3 separate regions of the Homo sapiens genome follow, and regions 1 and 3 are each linked to region 2. The links are contacts of gene promoters, found by promoter capture Hi-C in blood cells and fetal thymus (Javierre and others, 2016). All regions are on one chromosome and are shown on one strand. The core of a region is centred on a gene start or on the middle of the fragment in contact, and the rest is flanking DNA. Distances in the headings are between cores, read along the strand shown.

Evidence for each region. Contacts are between HindIII fragments. The CHiCAGO score rates a contact against its expected background, and 5 or more counts as called.
Region 1: a fragment that was not itself captured here is called in contact with the fragment with the promoter of CHORDC1 in region 2 in 2 of 17 cell types (M2 macrophages and fetal thymus); the score reaches 8.2 in M2 macrophages.
Region 3: a fragment that was not itself captured here is called in contact with the fragment with the promoter of CHORDC1 in region 2 in 1 of 17 cell types (naive B cells); the score reaches 7.1 in naive B cells.

What each region holds. Positions count from the first base shown.
Region 1 is chr11:92,766,420-92,770,818 of GRCh38, forward strand. All of the region lies in intron 6 of FAT3 (FAT atypical cadherin 3), which reads left to right. Among named protein-coding and RNA genes, the nearest start is that of LINC02746, 150 kb to the right of the region's middle. The HindIII fragment of the contact is 1,580 bases long and covers 1,852-3,431 here.
Region 2 is chr11:90,220,896-90,225,467 of GRCh38, forward strand. CHORDC1 (cysteine and histidine rich domain containing 1) reads right to left here and starts at 2,154. Exons shown (of 11, transcript NM_012124.3): 1 at 1,996-2,154. The coding sequence starts at 2,059. LOC124902812 (a long non-coding RNA gene) reads left to right here and starts at 2,264. Exons shown (of 2, transcript XR_007062978.1): 1 at 2,264-2,525. The HindIII fragment of the contact is 11,072 bases long and covers 1-4,572 here.
Region 3 is chr11:92,526,536-92,531,041 of GRCh38, forward strand. All of the region lies in intron 3 of FAT3 (FAT atypical cadherin 3), which reads left to right. Among named protein-coding and RNA genes, the nearest start is that of FAT3, 300 kb to the left of the region's middle. The HindIII fragment of the contact is 1,429 bases long and covers 1,409-2,837 here.

The DNA.
Region 1 (4,399 bases), core at 1,392-3,891, 2.5 Mb after region 2:
CCTCTCCCCCCCAGGAATGGCTGTACTTGGGAAAAGCATTTAGAAAGTTCCACAGCGGTTTTAACAAGGCACAGAAAAAGAACGCCCCATGGCCCGCAGTCAAACCTCTATAGAGAGTCCTCTGAACTTCCAAAAAAGCAAAGAGCTGTTTTCTACGTGTTTCATTTGATGAAATGATGGTGGAACATTTTTGTTTTACTTACTTGGTATTAATCATGCCATCGTGTACATGGGCATCCTCACAGCAAGCTTTCACTTCTTTCTTCATTGCTACTCAACATATTTGAAATGAAACTTCTTCTGATCCATGAAAGGGGTCTCCATTTCTTTATCTTCTTAGTAATTTTCAGCTCATTAAGATATTATCTGATGCAGTTTCTTCTTTCTTGGCACCACAAAGGGTTGCACGTAGTCATGGTCTGGTTTTCTGTACAGTCACCTTTAATGATTTCTTCACTTCCACCCCCAGAGTCACAGAAAGTGCAATTCAGTTCTTACACGTGCCCTTAGTGCCAGGTGTCCAGAGACATGTGCAATAGTGATTTTTAGCCGGGCACAGTGGCTCACGCCTGTAATCTCAACACTTGGGGAGGCTGAGGTGGGTGGATCACTTGAGGTCAGAAGTTCGAGACCAACGTGTCCAACATGGCGAAACCCCATCTCTACTAAAAATACAAAAATTAGCTGGGCATGATGGCGGGCGCCTGTAATCCCAGCTACTGGGGAGGCTGAGGCAGGAGAATTGCTTGAACCCGGGAGGTGGAGGTTGCAGTGAGCCAAGATTGCATCACTGTACTCCAGCAGCCTGGGCAACAGAGCAAGACTCTGTCTCAAAAAAAAAAAAAAAAAGCCTAAAGGAGAATGCAGCAGAAACCGAATAGGCAACAGAATGTCTAGTGTGCTGTCCTGAGATTAGATGAGTTGCCCTTTCTCATCAGCCACTGATTTTTCTCCCTCCTCCTTGAACACTCCAGTGTCCAAGCACCTCTACAGCCTGACAGTGTCACATCTCTCCCTGGCATGATCCATGCACTCAACCTGCTGACCCGTAGTACATCCCACCTACCACCCATGTGCCCTGGGATGCCCTCACTTGTACTCTGCTTTTGAAATCCTACTGGCATGCCTTTCTGTAATGGTCAGTCTCACCAGCTGCCTGACCCTAGTTATCCAGGTCAGGCTTGCAACTCTTCATCATTCCTGCATGTGTGTGTGTGACTGTCTGTAGGTAAGCATACCTAGCAGTACTGCATGTAACCTGATTTGCAAGTTTCTCATGTCAGCATGATGAGTGCTGCTGTATGTTTTCATTTGTGCTTATCCTGTCTCCACTCTTAACCCCTATGGTTAAGGCCCATGTGTCCTCATTCCTTCCTCCTGCCAAAACCTCTGTTGCTACCAACCCAGGATGAGTGGAATAAACTATGGTGAATGATGGAGATACCCCAGGCAGCCACTATGCTAACCCTACTGATGCCTCCTGGAACCTACTCAGAGTCAGTGTGACCTTCCACTGTGCTACTGGCCACGGCAACCTACACACTATGCACCTTTGACAAAATAGAAACATCATTGGTCCAAGAAGAGAGAGGCAGTTTACAGATGAGAGCTCTCCCTGGAAGGAGTCCCTTTAAGCTACCTTAAATATAGACCCAGGATCCATCATCAAGAACATGGCATCAGTTTTCATGTTTCTTCATTGGTGTATTTCTAAATGCTATACTTTTCCTAGAGACTGCCTTCAGTTTCAGTGCACTTGTAGGTCTCTGAATGAGGACCTACAGGGTTGTCCCTCTGGTCTGGATGCTTCCATCACAGAGATTTCACTGTAAATCAGGTAACATCTAGCCAAGCTTCTTTTCCAAATTGAACTTACTGGGCCAGATGCCCAAACAGAACATGATTTTATTTCCATCCCCACATCCAGCCAACAACATCTTGAAACACCAAATCTTTATTTCAGCGCAGAAGTAAAATCCTTTTCCCAGGTGCTGGTTACTTCAGTATTGATATGGTCCACGTTCCACCAAATCCTCCTTTTGAAAATCTTTCTAATCCATCAGAGTCATTTTTTCTCAATCTGCTGACAACATCTTTCCCCTTCTTTAAATACCTATTGTTTCCTTTATCATATTCAGATGTTTTAGTCTCGCTCTCAAGATTTCCTGCTTATTTATCTTCAGCCATGGAAACTCTCATCTCTCTGTTCCCTTCCTCCTTACGTAAGCATCTTTTTTGGCCAAGCTAACATACAGAGGAAAGAGGGAACAATGCGCCTCAATGCTTAAGAAACATAGCAGTGAATGCCTGGAATAGGCACTAGGTATGTAATATCAGCATGGATCTGAAATGAGGTCTCAGATATAAGTATGGGCCTTGCCTAGGTAAATACTCTATGACTCTTCCAAGGGAGTGAGAATTTGGCTCCATTAATAGACCCAGTGCTTGCAGACACCTAAAGAGACACTGAGTTACAGAGAAGACATCATCTTGGCATGACACTTACAGCTTACTAATGCTATAACTAATAAATTCTCATTAAGTGAGCAGAAATAGTGTTTCAGCATGCTTTTCCCCTGAGAGTAAAGTCGCCCCATTTCTGCATTTCCAAATCTAGCCAATTCTTGCTTAACTGCATTTCTTTGTCTCCCACCATGATATGAATTCACAAAAGCTGGGTAGCAAGCAAGATTTTGTTCCAAGCCTGGACCCTTGCATCGAGGATCTGTCACACACTTTCTTGTGCCTCCAAGGAGACCACTGCTTACAATATTATGCAGTGAGACTTTTCAGCTTCCAGAAACAGAAGCCCTACTTGTAACTGAGTTAAGAAAGCTGTAATTAAAAGGAAACATAATAAAGTTCAGCTGTTCTGTGTTTAAACAGCCCAACGCACAGCATGTTCCTTCTCTGTGTTAAAAGGGAAAGAAAGTGAAGGGAACACAAATAACCCATAATCCTTTGTGGCTTTATCACATATCTTCACACTTCTCAGGGGACTATGATTTCAACTCCACAGCTCCTTGATTTACAGACTCTCTAATGTGCATGCAATCTGGTTCACAGTTCAGTCCCTGTATCTTTATTCTGTTGGCAAATATTTCAATAGAGAAGGCCACCTTTATTACACACCTCAGACAGTTCCTCTTTACCTGCAGATGGATGGGGGGTGCTGTCACCCATTTTTTAGCTTTTCACCTGACTTAGGGGAGAAAAATAGTTTTCTTTGTAAATAGTAAGCACCTAAAATATCTTTCTTTATCTCGCCTACTGTAAGGCTGCTCTTTGAAAATGTTTCTCTGTTGGTGAGTGATAGAACGTAGTTCCAACTCCAGTTGAAATGTCTTTCTGTGTTGCAGGAAGGCTGCTTTGACCCTTCATTTGTCATAGGTTCCTTCAAACTTTGGGCTCCAGGCTGCTGCTGTGTCATAAGCTTTTGCCTGTCTTTCTTGAACCTTGTCCCCAGTGGAGCCATCGCTTATTTAGAGATGAATGAAGTAGGCCCATTGAAGTCTCTGGTAGGACTAGCAGCAGCCTTGTTCTTCAACTAGAGCTTGGACACCTCTGGGTCTTCCCTAATCAGGTGGCTGTATTTCTCTAGCGAAAGACTCTTACCCAGTGATATGGAGAGAAACCATATTCATACGTCATTTCTATTACAGCTGCTCCTTCATCAGGGTGACCCTTGCTCCAAGTCATTCAACTGACATCAAACACTTCATTTCCCCTATTCTGCCCCTTTTCCCTAATTTGATCCCAAATAAGCCTCTCATTTTTCCATAGCAACAGTCTGGTCCATAGGAGCACATCTGTAGAAACTTCAGGAAAATAAGAAGAAGCCTAGAAACACTTCATATACTATTAATAGTTTTAAGAAAATGAATCCTAAACTCGATTCTAGAAGAGATTTTCTTTCCAGCCACTTTTTCCTGACCTCCACCTGGTGTCCCCTGTCTTCCAAGTAAATATCCTTTTCAGCCAGGTACTGTGCTTGCTTTCATTTCAAGGCAGAAAATTAGGGGAAAATGATAATTGGTGTTTAGCATTTTCAAGATCAAATTGTAACTGGTGTTTAGCATTTTTTCTTAAGTTCGGTGTACATGCGGAACCTGAATCAACAGCTTGTGCACAACTCCCTGAATTCATTGAGGTTCGGCAGCTCCGTGTTCTGGAAGCTGCTCACATAACACCTTCCCCTTGGTGACAACTAGATGTGGGTTGGTATTTTTACAATTATATGTGGAGTGGAAAAGAATCATATGCTAGGGGAGGGACCTGGAAGCTCTCTAAAGGGGAAGCTGTGTGATTCTCACCATTGGGTGTCTTTACGGAGGGACAGAGGTGCTTCGTACCCTTCTTTAAAGAAAAACTAGACTGAATCACGGCCCAGTGCTCCAAT
Region 2 (4,572 bases), core at 904-3,403:
TGAAGCTGTGTTTATTCTAGAATAAGTGTTTAACATATGTAAGTTACCAACTGTGTCTCCCTTAAACACCCTTTAACTTCAGTTACAAGTTAAAACGTTCTATCAGCTTAAAAGGGAGTCTAATTTCTGTCTCTAGGGGGAAAAAAAAATCATGAGACTATAAGTCAACGAGCACGGTAATTATGCCACAGCACCGAGAAAAAAAGCATTTAGTGTAGATTAAGAAATATTTAAAGATGACAGATCCAACATCTGGCTTACGCAAAATGGAACTTGCTTGTGTATTTACCTCTTTTAACTTATTTCTGTCAACTGTACAAGGTCAAACCTCTTCCTAAAAAACCTCCTAACCAACCTTTCTATTTAGTTCTTGTCTCCTACTCCGTATCTCCATTTTCTTCTCCTTCCATTCACTCAATCAGTTTACTTGAAAAATGTATTCTAAGTCTCTAAAAAAACCGTCATTTCGCTAAAGTAAATATACTTATTGGAATTTCTCTGCTGTAACTAGTACTGCTGACCACCCAAGTTTTGAGACGGTTTTCCTGGTCGCTTTCTGTTTCCTAGGCACTGCACCAATTCACACATGGATACAGACTTCCAACAAATGACTATCGCCCCTGAACTTTATTGTCTCATAAGCAAAGCGTCAGTCTTTCCCCTGTATTCTATATTAAAGTAGAATATCTGCAGACATAAGTGCAATTAATGTTTTACATAGGCTGCCAACACCAAAGGGCTTTAAAATCGTTTCTCGATTTTGTCATCGACTGAAATCTCACAATTTTCCTCATGAGTAGCATCATATTTGCATCATAAAAATGTCAGTGGCGGTAACTTGAGTATTGCATAGGTTGGATTTTCCTTTTCCTTAAAACTCTGTATCAATGGTCTTATTTTAAATAACGCTATCAATTTACCTGTGTGCCAAAAATAAGTATTTCAAACATCTCAGAGGTGAAGAGTTCAAAAGGCATCAGTTTTCATCTCCTCCACAATAATGAAGGATGTTATTAATACAACCTCATTGAACTGAGCTTCTCTATCAAATGGGTCTAATTAACATTACATGCGTCCCAGGGTGGTTATGAAGATTAAATAAGATAAAGCAATAATGGCTGGCATGCAGAAAATATAAACTAAATGCTAGTTCAATCTGAAAACGTGTTGTCACTTCTCACGATACGCAAGGAATCATCTCACTTCTTTGTCAATCAAAATTTCAATTCACTGATCATTTCCCGTCCTTCACCTAATAGTCATTTTCGCTTTGGATCCTTAACTCGACATCTAGGTGCTGTAGATGACATTCACTCATTTTATACGGGAGTAGGCATGGTAGTAAAACGTGGAGGCCACAAGAAGAACAAGCAACAAATGCCGCTAGTAATAAAAAGATAACTAACGTACCACCAGGATGAACCTATCAAAACAGCGTGAAGATACAGAGTAATGTCCCTTACCAAGAACACTTGTAAGAGGTTTGTAACAGCGGATCGACTGAACACAAACTTCTACAAGGCAGAGCTTACATGCTAGGACAACCCGCTGCTCATCCCGGCCACCTCTCCCTCTCGCGCAGGCAATCACAGCCATCACTACTTCGGGAACTACAAAGCAAGCTCACCAGTACCTCGTTAATTTTTGCTTCCCCAGAGACTGGAGGGCCAGAGGAGAAACGTGTTCGTTCTAAATTCCAGGCGACTTAAAAGGAGTGCGGGGACGACGGGGGAAACACGTGGATCCATGGGAGCGTCTCTCTCCGCAGTGGCAGAGGACAGTCAGGCGCCGGGGCCGGGCGCTCGCCAAGGGAACGCGGCGCAACAGAGGGGCGGCCGGCGGGCTGCGCGGGCAGCCAAGGGAGGCCCAGGAGGGGCATGGACCTGGGGCCGCGCGAGGACGGCTGCAGGAGATCCGCGGACACCCTCCGGCCCAAAGGGCCTCCCCTGCTGATGAGGTGGAGGGGAGGGAGGGCTGGCGGCGCGTTCCTCTTACCGTCGGAATTGGTCTCAGGATCGAAGCGCTGACCGCAGCCCCGGTTGTAGCACAGCAAGGCCATTTTCTTTTCCCACCGTCACAGGCAAGGCCCAAACACCGGGAACGGCAAGAGGATGCGTTTGCCACTCCCGTGTCGCTAGCACCGGTCTGACGACTGAGGCGGCTACCGGCTTCCGGAAACGATCCGTTGCGTTTCAGGAACCTTCGCGAATTTTCCGGTCGCGCAGGCGCAGAGGAGAAGGGACGAGGCGGAGGTAGCGGCGGGAGGCTGGCACTAGCCCGGGCCACGATAGGTCGGACTACAGCTGGTAGCAACTGGGGGTCGGAAGTGGAGCCCAGACAACAGCGGAGGAGAAATTTCCGGGGCAGAAAATGAAGGTGTCCGAGAGACTGACAATTCTCTTCTGACTTCCTCAGTGCTAACTGGCTTTGGGTATCTCCTGCAGCAAAGTGGCCGCCCCGCCCTCTCATCCCCTGCGACCCAGCACCCTTCTTCCTTGCCTTGAGGCTGCGCCTTAGACAGCCCGGTGGGTATCTGTTTACCCCTTAGCACTAAGGGATAAGTGCACAGTAAGTGCAGAATCATACAGTGTTTCCAAATCCTCAGGGTAGACGTGTGAGCTTAGTAAATGAGAGGAATAGCGGACGAACCTCTCCGTGTGTTTGTGTCTCGAGTGCCCTCATCTCAGGAGCAATTTTAATAACTTAACAGTTGCGGTCACATTACTTTGAAAATACAAAAAACGTAGAAATCAGAGTAGCAAAGAAAATTATGGATCTGATGCTGTGCCAGAATTGATCACAGTTGCTCTAAAGCCCTGGGGTAATAGTTAATATTTCATGTGAGCCTCCACTTAAACGATTTATCAATACTCAGTACACCACTCTTGGAACAGCTAGTAAAACTTCAGGTGCATTATAAAAAGTACAGTAATGCATTGGCTTCAACTTGCATATTTCCCAAACATGGGCGTTTGCAAGAAAAGCAAACACTTTTTGATAACATATACTGAAGGATCTTAAAATAAGATCAGCAGCTTATAAGTGAACCTAAAAATCTATACACTGTTTCCATTGATCTCAAGGTTATTTAGAGATCTGCTCACGTCCTCCTACCCCTAAAGACTTTTTAGTTTTTCATATTCTCTTTCTCTTCTTCTACCTAGAAGTATTAAATTTTCATATTGTGATCCACCATAGATAGGTATGTTTTCTTCATTTAACCTAACGTGAGTATTTTTCTATTTTGTTTCATAGTCATTGTTACAAATGACGGAGTATTCTGTTGAATAAATGCACTGTAATTTAACCTTTCTCTAATTTCCCCAACTTTATTATATATAAGTTACAGTGCTCAACCTGTGTATTGTTTTTCTTATTTCGAATTTCCCCCTTTAGGAAAATTTTTGGAAAGCGACAGTTCTGGGGTAAAGGGCATAAGGCTTTTTAAATAACTTTAAGATTTTAAAGATATATAGAGCCAATTGCTTTCCGAAAGGTGGTACCAATTTACAATTGCACCGGCTGTGAATGTAATAGACCGTAGAAATTGATCATACACAATTGGAAATGAGTAAGTGGAGAGCTCTAAAAAGTTTTAGTTGTGACCAAATCTGTTGTCTTGAGTATCCTAGTATCAATGCAACATTACCAGGATTGTTAGTGAACTAAACCTTTTAAATAATTTTAATGTTTATTTCTAGTTTTTCATCTGTAGCATTTTACAATCAGAATATAATTGCTTATGGTAGATAATTTGGAAAACGCAGAAGTATACTAAGAACAAAGTCAACAATAATTCCACCACCCAGCAATAAGTACTGAATGGCTAAAATAACTCTTTGGTAAATTTATTTTCAGTGTTTCCTGACACCCCAAGCATTTATAGATATATATGTTTAAAAAGAGTCGTGTTATATATAGGAGTTTATGTTCCTCCCTTGGGTATTTTGAGAAACTATAAAATTAAATCATTCTTATGATTAAGAAAAACAGTGTTACAGCAACAGCCTGTTTCAATCCCACCTCCACTTACATTTCCATTCCAACACTTCAGTGCTGACTAACACCCACTGTTTGAAAAACTTTCTAGAATTTACATGTATATTTTATATACACTTTGAATATATCTTCCCTTCCTTCTTTACCCCCATACATATCAAAATATGCTTTAACTTTGACTATCTTGTTATTAACAAAAGACTTAAATAAATATGTTAACTTAAAACAATTGTCAATTATTCTTGGTGCAAAATGAATGTTTATCATACTACTCTCTTTTTCTGCATTTAAAAATATTTCTTAAAACAATTCAGTTAAGTTTAATTAAGCTCCATTATCTTGGGCTGGGTGCTGTGGCTTACGGCTGTAATCCCAGTACTTTAGGAGGCCAAAGTAGGTGAATCACCTGAGGTCAGAAGTTTGAGACCAGCTTGACCAACATGACGAAACCCTGTCTCTACTAAAAATACAAAAAAATTAGCTGCGTATGGTGGCGCATGCCCGTAACCCCAGCTACTCGGGAGGCTGAGGCAGGAGAATCACTTGAACCGGGGAGGCAGAGGTTGCAATGAG
Region 3 (4,506 bases), core at 873-3,372, 2.3 Mb after region 2:
AAGTTTTCTCTGTTCTCATCCTTTACTTAGGAATGAATAGAAAAAATAACTGTCACAGGGAAGAGGGAAGAATTTGGGTTGGATGTGAAGTTCAGAGAAGAACATGCTCATTCATGTAACTAAAGCTTTCTTTTATATGGCTTTTAAAAGTTTGAACATAATTTTTCAGAAAGCCCTGTTTTATCACTATTTGGCCTACGTTGCTAATAAGATCCTTAAGCATGTTCATAATTTCTCTCTTCTTGCCATAGATTTTTAAAAAGCATTTTTGCCAGGAATGACATTTTTGTCCAACTGATCTAATTGTCTAAAGAAATATATAGCATACCTTGTAGTTTCCAGACACATGATAAGAAAATACTGCTTTTTTATCCATTTATTCAATCACCAACCACTTATTGTACCTATTACTTTTCAAGTAAGATCTAATAAAGAGGGTTATAAACTTAAGATATGGTCCCAGCCTTAGGGACCCAAACTTATATGAACTTAACAAATACTTATGATATAGCTAAAGATATAAATGATTCCAGCAGGGGAGCTTCACTCAATATAGGGTTGGTGGGAGTGATGGTCAGGGAGGGCTTCATGGAGGAAGTCACATTTGGAGTTAGAAGTCCTGAGTTTCAAATGCTTGCTCTGTGCTTTCTAACTACGAAACACCATAGAACACAGTGGGGGAAACAGACTGTATTGCACAGTTTTCACCAGCTTCATGAACTTACCAGCTTCATGACCTTGGGGAAATTATTGAACCTCTCTTAAATGTAGTTTTTAGTGAGTAAAAATAGTTGCAAGGAATATAGGAGTCCTCACCAGAAATCCTTTGCACAGTGCCTGGTGCATTGAAATCCCACAAAAAAAGCTGATACCCCATTCTAACTACTTTACTGTAGTTACAGTCATTTAATCTCTTTGGACCTCACTTACTTATCTGGAAAATGAAAATGACCTTGCTTACTCTGCAAGGGTTGCTCATGAAGTCTGAATGTCATCATGATGTGTTTGAAGGCTGTTGGTAAACTACAGAGTTCTGTAAGAGTCATGTTATGCCTATTTCTAATGAGATTCACAGAACTCCAAGTCTGGTGAAATTCTTGTTAATGGTGTTGCTCTAAGTATCATGCTGCCTAGGGGGCAACCTTCAGCCAGCTCAAGGAACTCTCTAATAGAAGTCTTAATTTTTGGCATTTCTTCCTGACTCTAAAGTCATTTGTCTGAAATAGTTACATCAATATAACATTTTTCAGTAATGAAGCTGGATGTGTAGCTAACCAGTGTGTAGATAGATAGATAGATACATAGATAGATACATAGATACATAGACAGAGGCATACTAACCAGTATATTTAGGAAAGATTTATGCTTTAGATTTTTTTCTCAAATGGATGTTGACTCTAGTAAACTAAGCTTTCATTTCCTCCTCTGCTGTACAGTTGGAATTTTTAGAATTTGGTTTTGTTTTGGCAATGTGCTACATAATAAAGATTAAAATGATTAACGCCAACGCAAATAATGCCAAGATGTATGATATACAGCTTGTAGCAGATAACAGATGTTCCCAACCCCAAAATGGAGAGAGATTTCTTTATCGAACATCTGTTCTCTACACAAATAACTGGGTTTTTTTCTACCACATCTAGAATCACGTAGAATCAGTAGTCTGTGGACTTTCTTTAGTAATTCCTGTGGCTTAAGGAAAACAAAAGCTGTAATGCTGTGTGGTTTTTTCTGGCCGGTACAGAGAACTCTTGCTTAATTCCAGGCCAAGCAGTTAAATTCAATCAAATGCAGCCTACCCCCATGTCTGAGGTGGAGATACCATCAGGCCGGTGTTCACTTGCCTCTTTGGGTGAGCAGGAATGTTGCTTCCTTCCAGTTCGCTCAGTCGCCCAGGCTGGAGTGCATTGGCACGATCTCGGCTCACTGCAAGCTCCGCCTCCCGAGTTCACGCCATTCTCCTGCCTCAGCCTCCCGAGTAGCTGGGACTACAGGCGCCTGCCACCACACCCGGCTAATTTTTTGTATTTTTAGTAGAAACGGGGTTTCATCGTGTTAGCCAGGATGGTCTCGATTTCCTGACCTCATGATCCGCCCGCCTTGGCCTCCCAAAGTGCTGGATTACAGGCGTGAGCCACCGTGCCCGGCCTCCAGTTCTTTTGAGGGAGTCCAGGGTGGCCCTCATTGGTCATCCAGGCTGAAGTGGGGAGCAGGGGTGGAAATTTCTTCTAGGGCTTTGGAAGGTTTATTTTAGTCATGTTTACACCATGGAAACCCCATAGTACAGGGCTGACATGCCAGTGTTTAGTAGAGAACTCAATAAATGTTAACTATTACGATCATCATCATCATCCCGTATTTCCCCCTAGAAAAAAAGTCTGTGTAAGCTACAAGCACACTGCTCCTGGACCCCACTATCTTGAGGAAGACATTTCTGAAAGGCAGCCATGTCTTGCCTTAGCAATTGCTAGGTAGCACTGAAATCTTCAACTCAGTTTTATGAAGTGCATGACGTACCGTTGATCTAGACCCCAGGTGTCAGCAGGGTGGGAGACATAACAGAAATACATTGGAAGATACTTTCTGCACTCAGGGAATTTAGTCTCATAGGAAAAACAGAACCATCATACTTACCATTTAAGGCAGCTTATTTAAAACAAAAACAAAACAAAACAAAAAAAGAGTGGAGCTTTGTGGATTATAAGCTATGAACAGTGTAACATGTCAGAGCAGAGCTGAGTAACAGGGGATCTTTGCGGACCTGAAGGGGGCCTGAAGAATGGGCTGACCTGCAGAGACAGAGGCCAGATAACTATACAGGGAATATAAACAAGTGAAGCTTACCAGATAGCTTGAGAGGCATGATATTATTAGAAAGCGAATTTTAAGAGTCATAAATGTCAGGAAAGTGGTAAGATATTAGAAGTAGCAAATACATACATCTCTTTTCATTTGTTTCTGAGTTTGATAATAGTTAAATTTTAAAGGGCCTTGTTTTTTTTGTTTTGTTTTTTTTGTTTGTTTGTTTTTTCCAATCTTCCTTCTGAGAGACCTACTTCTTAAAGGAATTATTTTAAAGGGAAAAACACATACATAAAAGAGACCCCTTCATTCTTTCTTTTGTGTCTGTAAAACATAGATCCAGGATTAGCATATGCTGCATTGAGAGTCTGCCTGTGAAAGTGATTTTTGCTTAATCCAGATCTTTCAATGGTTCACTGTCCAGGGCATGGAATTTCTAAGTTTATTTCTGCAGTTGCTCTGTCTCCCTTTGACCCATGCTCCATTCACTGGCATCTCCACTTGTATTTGAGTAGAGGTGAAGTTCAGCTTTCTTTTGCTTTCTGTGAGCATCTTGAAATAAACCTGAGTAAAACATAGTTTATGTGTTGGTAGACTGGCTACCCCCACTTTAGGCGACTTAGGAGGAAGAAATCCTCTTCAAAAGTGTGTGTGCTGTAAGAATACCTCAAATTCTACCTTTAAGTATTGATTACTCCTAGGATAGACATTTCCTTTCTCTATTAAAATTGGAGGAGATAGCTTATTAAAATATTGGATGTCTTTAGTTTTTTAATCAGCTGCATATAACATCAGCATGCCTTTTGGTATATGGTATACAACATAGTGGATAAGAGAGGGGGTAACAGGGAGAGAAATCCAGACCACACTTCAACCTGAAAATTATTACCTGGTGAGCTTGCTAGACTATAGAGTCTTAGGCCAGAGCTTGATTATTTGCATTTTTAACAAGTTTCTAGGTGATGATGATGTTGCTCTCTCCTGAGAGCCTGATTAGCAAGGTTCTATATGAAACAAATGAGGGAGGTAACAAGGTGCCCAGAGACACCTGAGGACAAGACAGCAAACTTTATGAGTTACCCCAACATCTTACGGGGCTGAGGTTTGAGAGTTAATTCAGTCACCCACTCCCAAAATCAACTCCCATATCCTTACTTATACTTTCTCTTTTATCAAGTGGAGAAAAATGAAAATCCTGTCTCTAACTATCCATGAGCAAAATATCACATGGATTCCTAAGACTTGTAGTTAATAAAAAACCTGGGTCACGTAATGTTTGGATACACTTGTATTATTTCCAAATAGGTAGAATCAAGCAGAATTTGTTATTAAGTGGAGTTCAGACCTACTTTAATGAATCAACAAACATTATTGTATTTTAATATATGATTATAAAAAAGTGTTAGTTCATAAGATATGGATGTTCAAAAATAATTTGTTATCTTAGGTAAGTTAAGCCTTGTGTTTATGCACAGTTCCATGTGGTGGTAATCTGCTTAGAAAACCACCTTTTCTAGGAAAAGAGGAGGAAACCTTACTTTATTTACAAATATAGGGATTTAAAGAAAAAAAAAAAGGTGAGGTACAAGGGTCCAAATATTGGTGCTTGTTTTTCAGTGAACATTGCGGAAATCTATTGTTGTTTTTTGTTCTTTGTTTCTTTCGGGATGGCAGAGCCCCTCCTAATAAAAAGCTAAATTCTCC